Linked DNA regions of Homo sapiens: all the other regions are linked to region 1. The links are contacts of gene promoters, found by promoter capture Hi-C in blood cells and fetal thymus (Javierre and others, 2016). All regions are on one chromosome and are shown on one strand. Each heading gives the region's core, a stretch centred on a gene start or on the middle of the fragment in contact. The rest is flanking DNA. Distances are from core to core; before and after follow the strand shown.

Region 1 (3,811 bases), core at 796-3,295:
TCTATGTTTTCCAGATCTACTAGCAAGAGTTTTCTCCAAGCATCTGACAGATTCTGTCACTGGGTGACAGAAAAACCCAAGACAGTTGTTCTCATTGGCATTGTGCTTAAAGTAACCTGGGGAGTTTTTCAAATGCTATTCCTAGTCCCACTTCACTTCTAAGATTCTGACTCAGTAACTATGAGAAGAGGCTTCAGAGTGTACTTTTAAAACAAACACCGGCCGATTTAAATGCTGGTGGACCATACAACAAATTCTGAAATACACTGACCTAAGGGAAAAGATATTCTCTACTATGTGCAGAAAAACTTAGTACATGCTACCAAAACTTTTTAAAAACTATTTATAGAATATCATTTTTAAAAGCACAAAATGCAGAAAAAATGAAAATTTATAAAATTTCAATTGAAAAATTACAAAAAATTCAACTACAAAATTAATAACAACACATGAAGTTCAAAGTATTGCATAACCTGACAAACATAGTTTTCCCATTTTAACAGCTAGTCAATAAGATTCGTTTCCCATCCAGAATGGCAGAAGTCAGTTTCCCAGCCGTATCTCAGCCCTCCTGTGGCTAATCAGTAGAAATTTGCTCTTTTTATTTATGGATAGAAGTTAGGGCTTAATTTTCATAAGCTCTGCATCCCAAGCATTGGCCATTTGCTTGGGTACAGGATGGGATTTCTCTACTCTCTGCTAGGCATGTCTCAGTCTTGGAGTATAATTGTGAACTCAGTATATTCCCTGAGGTGGATGAGCTAAATAAACATCATGCCCTGAGAAATCTGCCATCTGTAAATTTCCGCAGTGGGAGATAACCCCCTGGAAGTTTTTATCCTTCTGCACTCTACACCAAGAGTACAGGCTGGGCCCAAAGCATCTTTAACCTCTCGTCTGGAAACCCCAAGGGAGGGTGATAAATCAGACCAGCCTAGAGGAAGAAACAGATACAGAAAACCACACTCCTGCTCTGACCTCTGTGTGGCTTCTCTAAGGAGCACTCACATCCAGTGAGTATGTGGCCCCTGCTCAGAATGAATCCTGGGTATGTGCCCTCCATCCTCCAGAGTTCTTACCTTGGAGAGCCTCCTTGAAAAACGAACGCCAGCTTTCACTGGTGACTCCCATGACCAAGGAGCAGAAAACAATGCCTGTGAAAAGCCTCATTGTGCTGAAGAGAAAGAAAGACAGGGGCAGAGGATCATAAAAAAAAACACAGATCTATGTTTTGAGGACTGAATTTCTTTCCTTTTTTTCTTTCTTTTTTTCCTTTTCTTTCTTTCTCCTTCCTTTCTTTCTTTCCTCCCTTTCTTTCTTTCTTTTTTTTTTCCTATTGCCCAGGCTAAAGTGCAATGATATGATTAAGGCTTACTGCAGCCTCGACCTTCTGGGCTCAAGTGATCCTCCCACCTCAGCCTCCTGAGTATTAAGGACTACAAACGTGCACCATCACACTCAGCTAATTTTTTTTTTTTTTTTTTTGGTAGAGACAAGGTCTTGGTATGTATGTTCGGCCCAGGCTAGTCTCGAACTCCTGGCCTCAAGCAATCTTCCTACCTCAACCTCCCAAAGGATTACAGGCATGAGCCACTGTGCCAGCCAAAGGACTGAATTTGAAAGACTAATTCCCCATTTCCATTTGTTTGTATGAGAATCATAACTGCATGAAAGATTGAAACGGGTTTTAAGAAGAAGCATAAACCCTTAATTCTCAGCCCAGATCTCTAGAAAGAATAAGAGGATTCCAACGTGTTATTTGGTCTGTGGTCAATTTGTCACCCAATACAGCAGACTAAAGTCAATCAAGAAGCATTTCCTGAGTTCCTACTCTCCTCAGCACTGACCCCGTAATGAGGTAGAAAACACAGTTTCTCTCCAATTGAAATTTGACAATTATGTGAGAAAAGGATCTCAAAAGAGTCAAATAAGAGAAATTACTCCTTGGAAGAAACCTCACCTGTGGACCTTTCTCCAGATGAAATTTCAGTAAAGGCAGAGCTGCTGGTATCTTCTGGCCGTGGAGCTATAGTTGGTACCTCTGCTGGCTTTGGCATTAATGGGAGAACGGTTTTAAATCCAACAACCTGCCTTGCCAAAGTCCTTTTTGCTCAATTCTTTGGGTATTTTAAAAATTAACATATTGGGTAATAGTGTTTCCTTATCTAGAAGTAGTTTTCCAAATTGGGTCATCAAGGTATTTATTTTCTGGCAGTTTTTCTTAATTGCCACTTTTCCCTCTTTTTAGTTTCCTGTATCACAGAAGAGTTGTATTTGCAAAATCCAGTGTGGGAAGACAGAGGTCTTTCTCCACTTTCTTCTCTTTGTGTCTTTCCATTCTTAACTGTTTAGTAGGAGGTCTTCCCAAAAAATTGCACATAGATATTATGCTGTAGGAAGTGATCAATATTATTAGCAAAAGAGATGTTTGCTTGTCTCTTGTGACTTCTCTCTAAAGAATGTAAGGACACAGAACAAGCAAGACTTGACTGTACCATTCATGGGATGAGGTAATGATTCTGGGAGAATACAAGGACAGGAATAACACCAGAAGATCAAGGGTGAAGGCCTTTGAGGCATAAAAACTCTTTTTTCATATAAATATGTATTATTCTGCACTTTCTTTTAAACTTACTATTTATTGGAAGTCTTTCCATGTCGGGCTTGTTGCTTTTTTTTTTTTTTTTTTTACAGCTACACAGTATTCCATTGCATGGATGGACCATAATTTATACAATATTAATGGCTGTTTTGACAGTTATTAACCTTTTGATATTACAAATAATGGTGCATTTATTAACCTTGTACATATGTCTCTTGCACATGTACAAATATATCTCTAGGATAAATTCCTACAGAAGAAACTCCATGGTGAAAAAGTATCAGATTTTATAAATTTTTTGTTTGTTTGTTTGAGACAGAGTCTCACTCTGTCCCCCAGGCTGGAGTGCAGTGGCATGATCTCAGCTCACTGCAACCTCCACCTCCGGGGTTCAAGAGATTCCCCTGCCTCGGCCTCTTGAGTAGCTGGGATTATAGGCACATGCCACCACATCAGGCTAATTTTTCTATTTTTAAGAGAGACGGGATTTCGCCATGTTGGCCAGGCTAGTCTCGACCCACTTACCTCAAATGATCTGCCCACCTCGGCTTCCCAAAGTGCTAGGATTACAGGCATGAGCCAACGTCCCTGGCCCTAGATTTTATAAATTTTTATATGTTGCAAATTGCCTTCCATGAGGGCTGTATCAATCTCTACTCCCACCAGAAATGAGTGAAAGAACTTGGTTCCACATTGTCTCTCACACAGTATACTCTCAAACTTTTTGGTCTTTGAAATTGTGAGTAAAATAAAACTCAAAGTAATTTTAATTTACATTTCTCTTATTATGATTTTGGTTTCACATCTTTCCACATGTTTAAGAGCTATTTCTATTTTCTAGGAATTGTGAATTCATACCTTCATATCAAAGTAGTCATTTTTTACTGGTTTATTGTGTTTTTATTTATCACATTAGAGAAACTTTTTATATACAGGGAAAATGAGTATGTTATCTAGGATATGAGTTACAAATATTTTTCCCAGCTTATTTATCTTCTGATTATGATGGCTTATGTTCTGCCAAAGAAATTATTTATGTTCTTGTCTTTATTAATATTTTCTTTAGTTGTCTTCTCAATTTCATAGTATTTGAAGAGCTTTCCCTACTTTGTTTTTTTGTGGTTTTCTTAAACTCAAATGTTTTTATTTCATTCCTTTTTAAAAATTTTTTGTGGGTACATAGTAGGTGTATATAATTATGGGGTACAT
Region 2 (3,811 bases), core at 29-2,528, 380 kb after region 1:
AGCCAGCCTGAGTAAATCAGTGAAGTTCATGGGTGGTGGGGCACTTTTAAGGGGGACCTTTGGTTTGCTTTCAACTTTGGGAGGTTCTTGCTCTTCCTCATACTCCTGCTCTGACTCTGCGTGATTGTACTCGAGGAATTCATTCTCTTCTTCCATTTCATACTCTCGGTCGGTTCCTTGGCTGGTATGGCTTTCTGTTGCCTGCCTCTTCTTTGACTTTTCCTCAATAGGAATCCCATTGTAACCATGGAAATTATCCTTTGTCCTCTTGGCCATAGCTCTTGCTTTCTTGTCATGTTTGAGCTCAATTCGCTTTTTCACTAGTTCCTCTTTTCTCCTTTTCTCCTCTAAGGCTAAAAGGGACAAAACAAGAATATGTTATTACTTCGAGATCTCAAGATTGCAGTATGCTCAAGTGAAAACACAACGTTCAGGTTACAGTTTGAAGACATCTAGGAATCAAATGAGGAAGTCATGTGAACAAGTATCAATTGAGTCATCTTTACATAATGAGTGGGAGACATATGGGTTTTTCTATATGACTAAGCAAGTGGGAGACTTGGTTTTCAGCTTTAAATATACAAAATACTTCAAACCAAATACATTACCAAGTTAAGAGAACATTAGTATCCACTTAGTAGTTGTTATTAATTATGATTCAATGAATACTTAAACATATTGAATCAGTTTCTTTGTATTTGCATGAAGTAGAACTATTCGAAATAAAGACTTTAAAACTTATCTCTATTTTAGCCTTTTAGATAGCATTCTGTTAATAAAAATTAAAATACAAAATGGGTAGAAACACTTTCAGAACCAAGATTAAAGAAAGAATGGAGTTCTTACTGGGGACTTACTATGGCCAATTAGAAGACATGGCTACTAACCCCCAAAAAGCTGTTACTTCAAGGGGAGAAAAAAAGAAAACGTTTATACAAATGATCGAGGTAACATATGTAAAGCCATGAATACAGTCAGTTAACCTGGACACACACACACACACACACACACACACACCCTCCCAAATCTGTTGGCCTGTTATGTTTTTATAGACAGCCACTGGTTTAGTACAAGCTAGATGGTGAAGATGGAATACTTTAAAATTGAGAATAAGGCTATAGATACATACCTTTTCGTCTCAGCTCCTCTTCTTTCCTTTTAAGAAAAGCTTGTACAGCTGCTGATTGGACACCTTTAACTTTTGGGTCTTTTTTTGGAGGCCCCACTGCCAAACTATACCTTTTCTAAAAACAAAAACAGTAAAAGTTAGAAGCAATTCAACTTTTAAAATACATTATTAGGTATAAGGCACTGTGCCAGGTAATAAGAGGTATAAATGTTAACTGTGAAACCTATTCTGAATAATTGAGAGATCATATAACCCATAATAAAGCTTAGCTATAAAATTTCAGACTATTTATTACGTATGGTGATTTTGGGGTACAAAGTTTCCATGTAACATCCCAAAATAATGCATAAATGAACAATTCACAGAAACACTGTTTTCAGGCTATTTTCCAAAAAAGAACCTGGACTGGGTAACTAAATGAAATCACCACTTAGAAGAATCGATTATTTGTGTTTTAAAATTCTGATTTAGGCTGGGCTCAGGGTCTCATGCCTGTAATCTCAGCACTTTGGGAGGCGGAGGCGGGCGAATCATGAGATCTGGAGTTCGAGATCAGCCTGGCCAACATGGTGAAACCCCATTCCTACTAAAAACACAAAAAATTAGCTGGGCGTAGTGGCGGGTGCCTGTAATCCCAGCTACTCAGGAGGCTGAGGCAGAAGAATTGCTTGAACCCGGGAGGCAGAGGTTGCAGTGAGCCGAGATTGTGCCACTGCACTGTAGCCCGGGCGACAAAGTAAGACTCCGTCTCAAAAAAAAAAAAAAAAAAAAAAAAATCTGATTTAGGCCAGGTGCGGTGGCTCACGCCTATAATCCCAACACTTTGGGCGGCTGAGGTGGGAGGATTACCTGTGGTCAGGAGTTAGCAACCAGCCTGGCCAACATAGTGAAACTCCGTCTCTACTAAAAATACAAAAATTAGCCGGGCATGGTGGCGCACATCCGTAATCCCAGCTGCTTAGGAGGCTGAGGCAGGAGAATGGCTTGAACCCAGGAGGCAGAGGTTGCAGTGAGCCGAGATTGCGCCACTGCACTCCAGGCTGGACAACAGAGCAAAACTCCGTCTCAATCCATCAATCTATAAGTAAGTAAGTAAGTAAGTAAATGTATAAAATTCTGAGTTTAAAAATAGCCTGCCTTAGAAAGAAGCATTTCAAAGTCCAACTTTTCAAACGAACAGAAAAAACTACTCCTCACAACTATTTTCTCTCCTGACTACTCCAGATGATTTCCTAGTAGAGACTCATAGCTACATGTTTTATTTTGCTTAGAACACGGAAACACTGAGGTTTTACTTTGACCACACACAAAGGCTGGGGCAAACCACAGCAAAAAAGCATTTCAAAAAATCTATGCAATAAAGGCCCAATTCCCAGCAACCTTTAACTGTAGCTCTTATGTTCACTAAATGTTAATTTGCCTCACAACCTCCTTTTTAGACAGGTTCCTATAACACCCAAAAAAAGCTTACATTATCCTGGCACAGATGAAGTCTCTGGACCTCAGTTTTTATATAACTGCATCAAGAAATTACTAAACTCAAGTAATGTTAATTTGAACTATAAAAGGAAAAATATTTCCACTTTATAAGTACCTATTATGAGAGAAATATGACGAACATAGAGCTAAAATAAATTCAGACCAGGGATGATTCACCTCTACGACCATTCCACATTAAATCCAGGAAATAAGATTTTTAAAGTATCCTCCTTTTTTTGTTTTGTTAGGCAGATGCATTCTCATCTAACGTACCTGTTGCTGTGGCTAGCAGAAAAAGAAACATGTCCAAGAACAAATTGAGACAACTTAGGAACAACTTAGGAACCAAAAAAGTATTCCCAAATATGTATGAAATTCTTGGAGGAAAACCAAAAGATATGTGCTTACTATAAGGCTGCCAAATACGACGTATCTTGAAACAGGCTGGAAGTTTCAACTAAATTAGTCTGCCAACAAAGCAGCTGGCCAAGGAAGCAGGCTCTAATTCAACCTGAAAATCTTGCATGATAGCAATGCTGAGAAGTGACATATCCCTAATAGAGAGAAGTCCCAAGACAGCATCCAGATTTCTTTCCCAGTCACCTTGGCTAGGCCATAGTGAGATCCTTTAAAGTCCATATCTTTGTAAATTTAATTTTAGACTCTTTCCATAGTGGATAGGGGCTCAATATTTAAAGGAGAAAAGGGAGAAAGAAAGGGAGAGGAGAAAGGAGAAGTAATACTGCTAACCTAACTAGATATATATAAAATTGCCCTTGTTTACAAGAAAAGAACCACAAACATAGGTATTAATCACAAGGAGCTTACATTTTCATTGTGGAAAGGGCACCATGAATATGATTCAAATGAAGACATACAAAAAACTCATAAGCAGAGGCACACACTCACTCCACTCCATCCCATTAAGGGATTTGGAAGCAGAAGAAGGTGGATTTTTTTTCACTAACACTTAAGATTTTCCTGGCCAGGCGCAGTGGCTCAAGCCTGTAATCCTAGCACTTTAGGAGGCTGAGGCGGGAGGACAGCTTGAGCCCAGGAGTTAAGACGCCAGCCTGGACAACATGGTGAGAACTCATCTCTTTAAAAAAAAAAAAAAAAAAAAGGCTGGGTGCAGTGACTTACACCTGTAATCCCAGAACTTTGGGAGGCTGAGGCAGGCGGATCACAAGGTCAGGAGATCGA
Region 3 (3,811 bases), core at 892-3,391, 270 kb after region 1:
GCCTCCCAAAGAGCTGGGATTACAGGCATGTGCCACCATGCCTGGCTAATTTTGTATTTTTAGTAGAGATGGGGTTTCACTCTGTTGGCCAGGCTGGTCTCGAACTCCTGACCTCAGGACCTCAGGTGATCCGCCTGCATCGGCCTCCGAAAGTGCTGGGTAAGATTACAGGTGTGAGCTACCACACCCGGCCTTATTGCTAGAATTTTAAGGTGTGTGTGTATAATTTGAAAGGAGTTTCTTTCAATCTACAGAAAAGCAGCTCCTGGGCTGCATTTTTATTTTAAAGAGGAAAGAAATGGGTTGAGTAATGACAGTGATCTCAATTGGTTTTTGATCTTGAAGTCCTTTTAAGAAATTTGTATATCTAGTATAGATAGCTGAAATATTAAATGGAATGCTAGTTATAATGAATTCAGCCAAGGGGAAAAATATTTTATAATACTCTCTTCTTTTAAAAAAAAAAAAATACATAGGCTGGGCATGGTGGCTCACACCTGTAATCCCAGCGCTTTGGGAGTCTGAGGCAGGCAGATCACAAGGTCAGGAGTTTGAGACCAGCCTGGCCAACATGGTGAAATCCTGTCTCTACTAAAAATACAAAAATTAGCCGGGAATGGTGGCACAGCCTGTAGTCCCAACTGCTAGGGAGGCTGAGGCAGGAGAATCACTTGAACTGGGGAAGTAGAGGTTGCAGTGAGCCGAGATTGCGCCACTGTACTCCAGCCTGGGTGACAGAGCAAGACTCCATCTCAAAAAAAATAAATAAATAAATAAATAAATTCCAGGAATAAACCAAGTTTTATCTTCCACTAAATTGCAATTAAATTTATTTTAATGCCCTAATTAGCAAATTATTTTGATTCTAGATCTAATAGAAGAATTTGTAATACAATTATTCAAAAGAACGTTTTTCATTACCTGGGATTGGGAGGGTATCCGGATGGGTATGGAGAGATTCCACCTGGCATGCCTGGCATGTAGGAAGCTAAAAACAATTTTTTTCACATTGTAAAAATAATATACAAGGCCTGAATATGTAGGCTACTGAATAAGATATACATCACACTGTCAATACACAGCAAAATTTCACAGTTAAAAAATCCAAATCTCAGCACCAAAACAAAACAAATACCTCTCCCTTTCATAATCCTGAAATCATTAAACATGAATTACAATACTTATGACAATCCCTACCAAAAGAACTGGCAAACAGGTCAACCTGGTCAGCTTTTAAAGTTCTCAAGAAGTCTATTACCTAAGAGCAAGTTCAATTTCAAATTTAGAGGAAGGTAATTCTGGCCTTCTTCGGTCCAAGGTTAACTTCTTAGAAAGTAACTTCTTTATTATATCTAATAAATCTTTTGATATTTCTTTTATAACTATGTTGGCCAATTAGCACAGCTGATTTTGTTGGTTTAAAGACTTCAAGAGACTTCAAACTACTATGAGAAGTCCTATACAAAACTTACATTATCCAGACTGTTAAAAACTAGTCTAGGTGACAGAGTGAGACCCTATCTCAAAACAAAGAAACAAACAAAACAAAAGCTTAGAAATACTAGGGATAAAAGGTTAAAACCCAGCAAGCTTAAAGAATACTTTATACATTCTTTAAAGAGAACGTGAATGCCAAAGAACTAAGATCAGTGGTGCCAAGAGGCTAATCAACATAGAGGAAGAAAAAGAGAAGTTAATCTTGAGCTTAACTGACAAAAAAAAATAGTAAAGAATCTGCTCTAGAGTGTTTAACATGACTTACAGTGACTGAGTACAAAATTGAATTGCAACAGTAACAATAGTATGGTCTCTTTCTTGAATACTGCACTTCCAATGTCAATTTAAAACTCAAAGAAATTTAGGAAAAAAAAAATGTTGCAGGCCGGCCGCGGTGGCTCACGCCTGTAATCCCAGCACTTTGGGAGGCCGAGGCAGATCACTTGAGGTCAGGAGTTCGAGACCAGCCTGGCCAACATGGTGAAACCCCGACTCTACTAAAAATACAAAAATTAGCTGGGCATGGTGGTGGGGGCCTGTAATCCCAGCGACTTGGGAGGCTGAGGCTCGAGAATCACTTGAACCTGGGAGGCAGAGGTTGCAGTCAGCCCAGATCATACCACTGCACTCCGGCCTGGGCAACAGAGCGAGACTCTGTCTCAAAAAAAAAAAAAAGTTGCTTAGGAGACTACCTGAATTTCTGAAAAGGTTACCTTTGTCATAGCGGTCACTCGCTATATTATCTGAGCAAATAAACAAAGGTAATGAGACTAGGAAATATTTGATATCTTTTTTTTTTTTTTTTTTGATACAGAGTCTTGCTCTGTCACCCAGGCTGGAGTGCAGTAATGCGATCTCAGCTCACTGCAACATCTGCCTCAGCCTCCCGAGTAGCTGGGACTACAGGCATGCACCACCACACCTGGCTAATTTTGTATTTTTAGTAGAGATGGGGTTTCATCATGTTGGCCAAGCTGGTCTTGAACTTCTGACATCAGGTGATCCACCCCCACCTCGGCCTCCCAAAGTGCTGGGGTTACAGCTACCACACCCGGCCAAATATTTCGTATTTCAAACTTAAGCAAGATACTCTACTCTTGGGCACTAGAGTCAACAGAATTTAATAAGATAAAAACAAATTTCTAATCCAAAGGAATTACCAGTACCTTTACTAAAAGAAATAGTAATCCTAAAATCAAGCTTATTCTGGGAAGGTAGGGAAGGAAAGAGAAATGGGTTCAAAAATTCTTTCTGTTAAATTCCCATTCAGCTTATAAACCAAGATGTTCCTCAGGAAAGAATGGATTAAAAAGGAAAAAGTATAATTTTCAGCAGAAGAAAAATGAAAGCACATATAATTTGTCTTGTAAGATAAACAAGTTTGGTTAATTATAATCTTAAAGAAAATTTACCAAAAAAAAAAAAGTCACAGCTCAAAACACAGTGAAATCAATGCAGATTTAGTAAATTCAAAATAAGTACAACCAACTCACAATTATTCAGAGTGATTTTTAAGTATCAGTAAGAATTATTCAAGAAAATAGAGATAACAGAGATAATATATTCCAATTAGGGGAGAAGCAACACTCTCTCCATGCTCCCACCACTCCACACAAGGTAAAATCATGAATTGGCTGTACGAAAGAGAAGAAAGCTAAGAGCTAGATGTCCAATTGTGTATACCCAGAATAGCTGAATGTGAACGCTTCAGTTGACCTTAATCCTTATCTACAACACTGATTTTGTAGTTGCAAAGAGAAAGGAGAGGTCAGACTACCTTTCAAGTTATATGTGCTTCCAAGCTGATCAAATAAGGCTATTCTGCAGCATGCATAATTTTAAAAATTCTAGCTCTATTCTACACTTTCTCCTCCATTTTGGAATCCAGCACAACCATTCTTAGATTTCTACCTACAAATGGAAGCCCAAATGCCAGTCTTTGGTGGGAATCTGTACATGCAGATGTGGGGCCTCAGAATACTTCCAAAAAATCCACTAGCTTGATAAACTAAAAAGCAAAGAAGTCATTATTTTTCTTTATTTTTTTACAAAGGTTTCTGTTCTCTTTTGTTTATATGAGTTTTAAAGTAAAATCTCAATTCTACTTACTATTTGGTGGCCCCGTTGCCTGGTATGGCGGATAGGATGCCGAAATAGGACGAGAGAAGACTGGAGGTTCATCTCCAAATACCACAATCATGACCTGAATAAGCCCCAACAAGTCTGACTGTGGCTACAAAATGAAAAAAAATTCAAGTCAGCTACAGAGTTGCTTTTCAGTAAAAAGAAAAAGGTTAGCCATTTCTCATCGGTT

What was found. Contacts are between HindIII fragments. The CHiCAGO score rates a contact against its expected background, and 5 or more counts as called.
Region 2: a fragment that was not itself captured here is called in contact with the fragment with the promoter of SAA4 in region 1 in 1 of 17 cell types (total B cells); the score reaches 5.3 in total B cells.
Region 3: a contact is called between a fragment that was not itself captured here and the fragment with the promoter of SAA4 in region 1, in 1 of 17 cell types (naive B cells). The highest score is 5.1, in naive B cells.

Annotation. Positions count from the first base shown.
Region 1 is chr11:18,234,757-18,238,567 of GRCh38, forward strand. SAA4 (serum amyloid A4, constitutive) reads right to left here and starts at 2,046. Exons shown (of 4, transcript NM_006512.4): 1 at 1,961-2,046; 2 at 1,080-1,174. The coding sequence starts at 1,170. It overlaps SAA2-SAA4 (SAA2-SAA4 readthrough), which reads right to left. Exons shown (of 6, transcript NM_001199744.2): 4 at 1,080-1,174. It also overlaps a transcript of SAA2 not described here. The HindIII fragment of the contact is 10,895 bases long and covers 1-3,811 here.
Region 2 is chr11:18,615,746-18,619,556 of GRCh38, forward strand. SPTY2D1 (SPT2 chromatin protein domain containing 1) reads right to left here. Exons shown (of 6, transcript NM_194285.3): 2 at 1,130-1,244; 3 at 1-353. Among named protein-coding and RNA genes, the nearest start is that of SPTY2D1, 17 kb to the right of the region's middle. RefSeq lists an enhancer at 1-1,067. The HindIII fragment of the contact is 225 bases long and covers 1,167-1,391 here.
Region 3 is chr11:18,505,936-18,509,746 of GRCh38, forward strand. TSG101 (tumor susceptibility 101) reads right to left here. Exons shown (of 10, transcript NM_006292.4): 5 at 3,607-3,730; 6 at 922-988. Among named protein-coding and RNA genes, the nearest start is that of TSG101, 19 kb to the right of the region's middle. The HindIII fragment of the contact is 1,107 bases long and covers 1,589-2,695 here.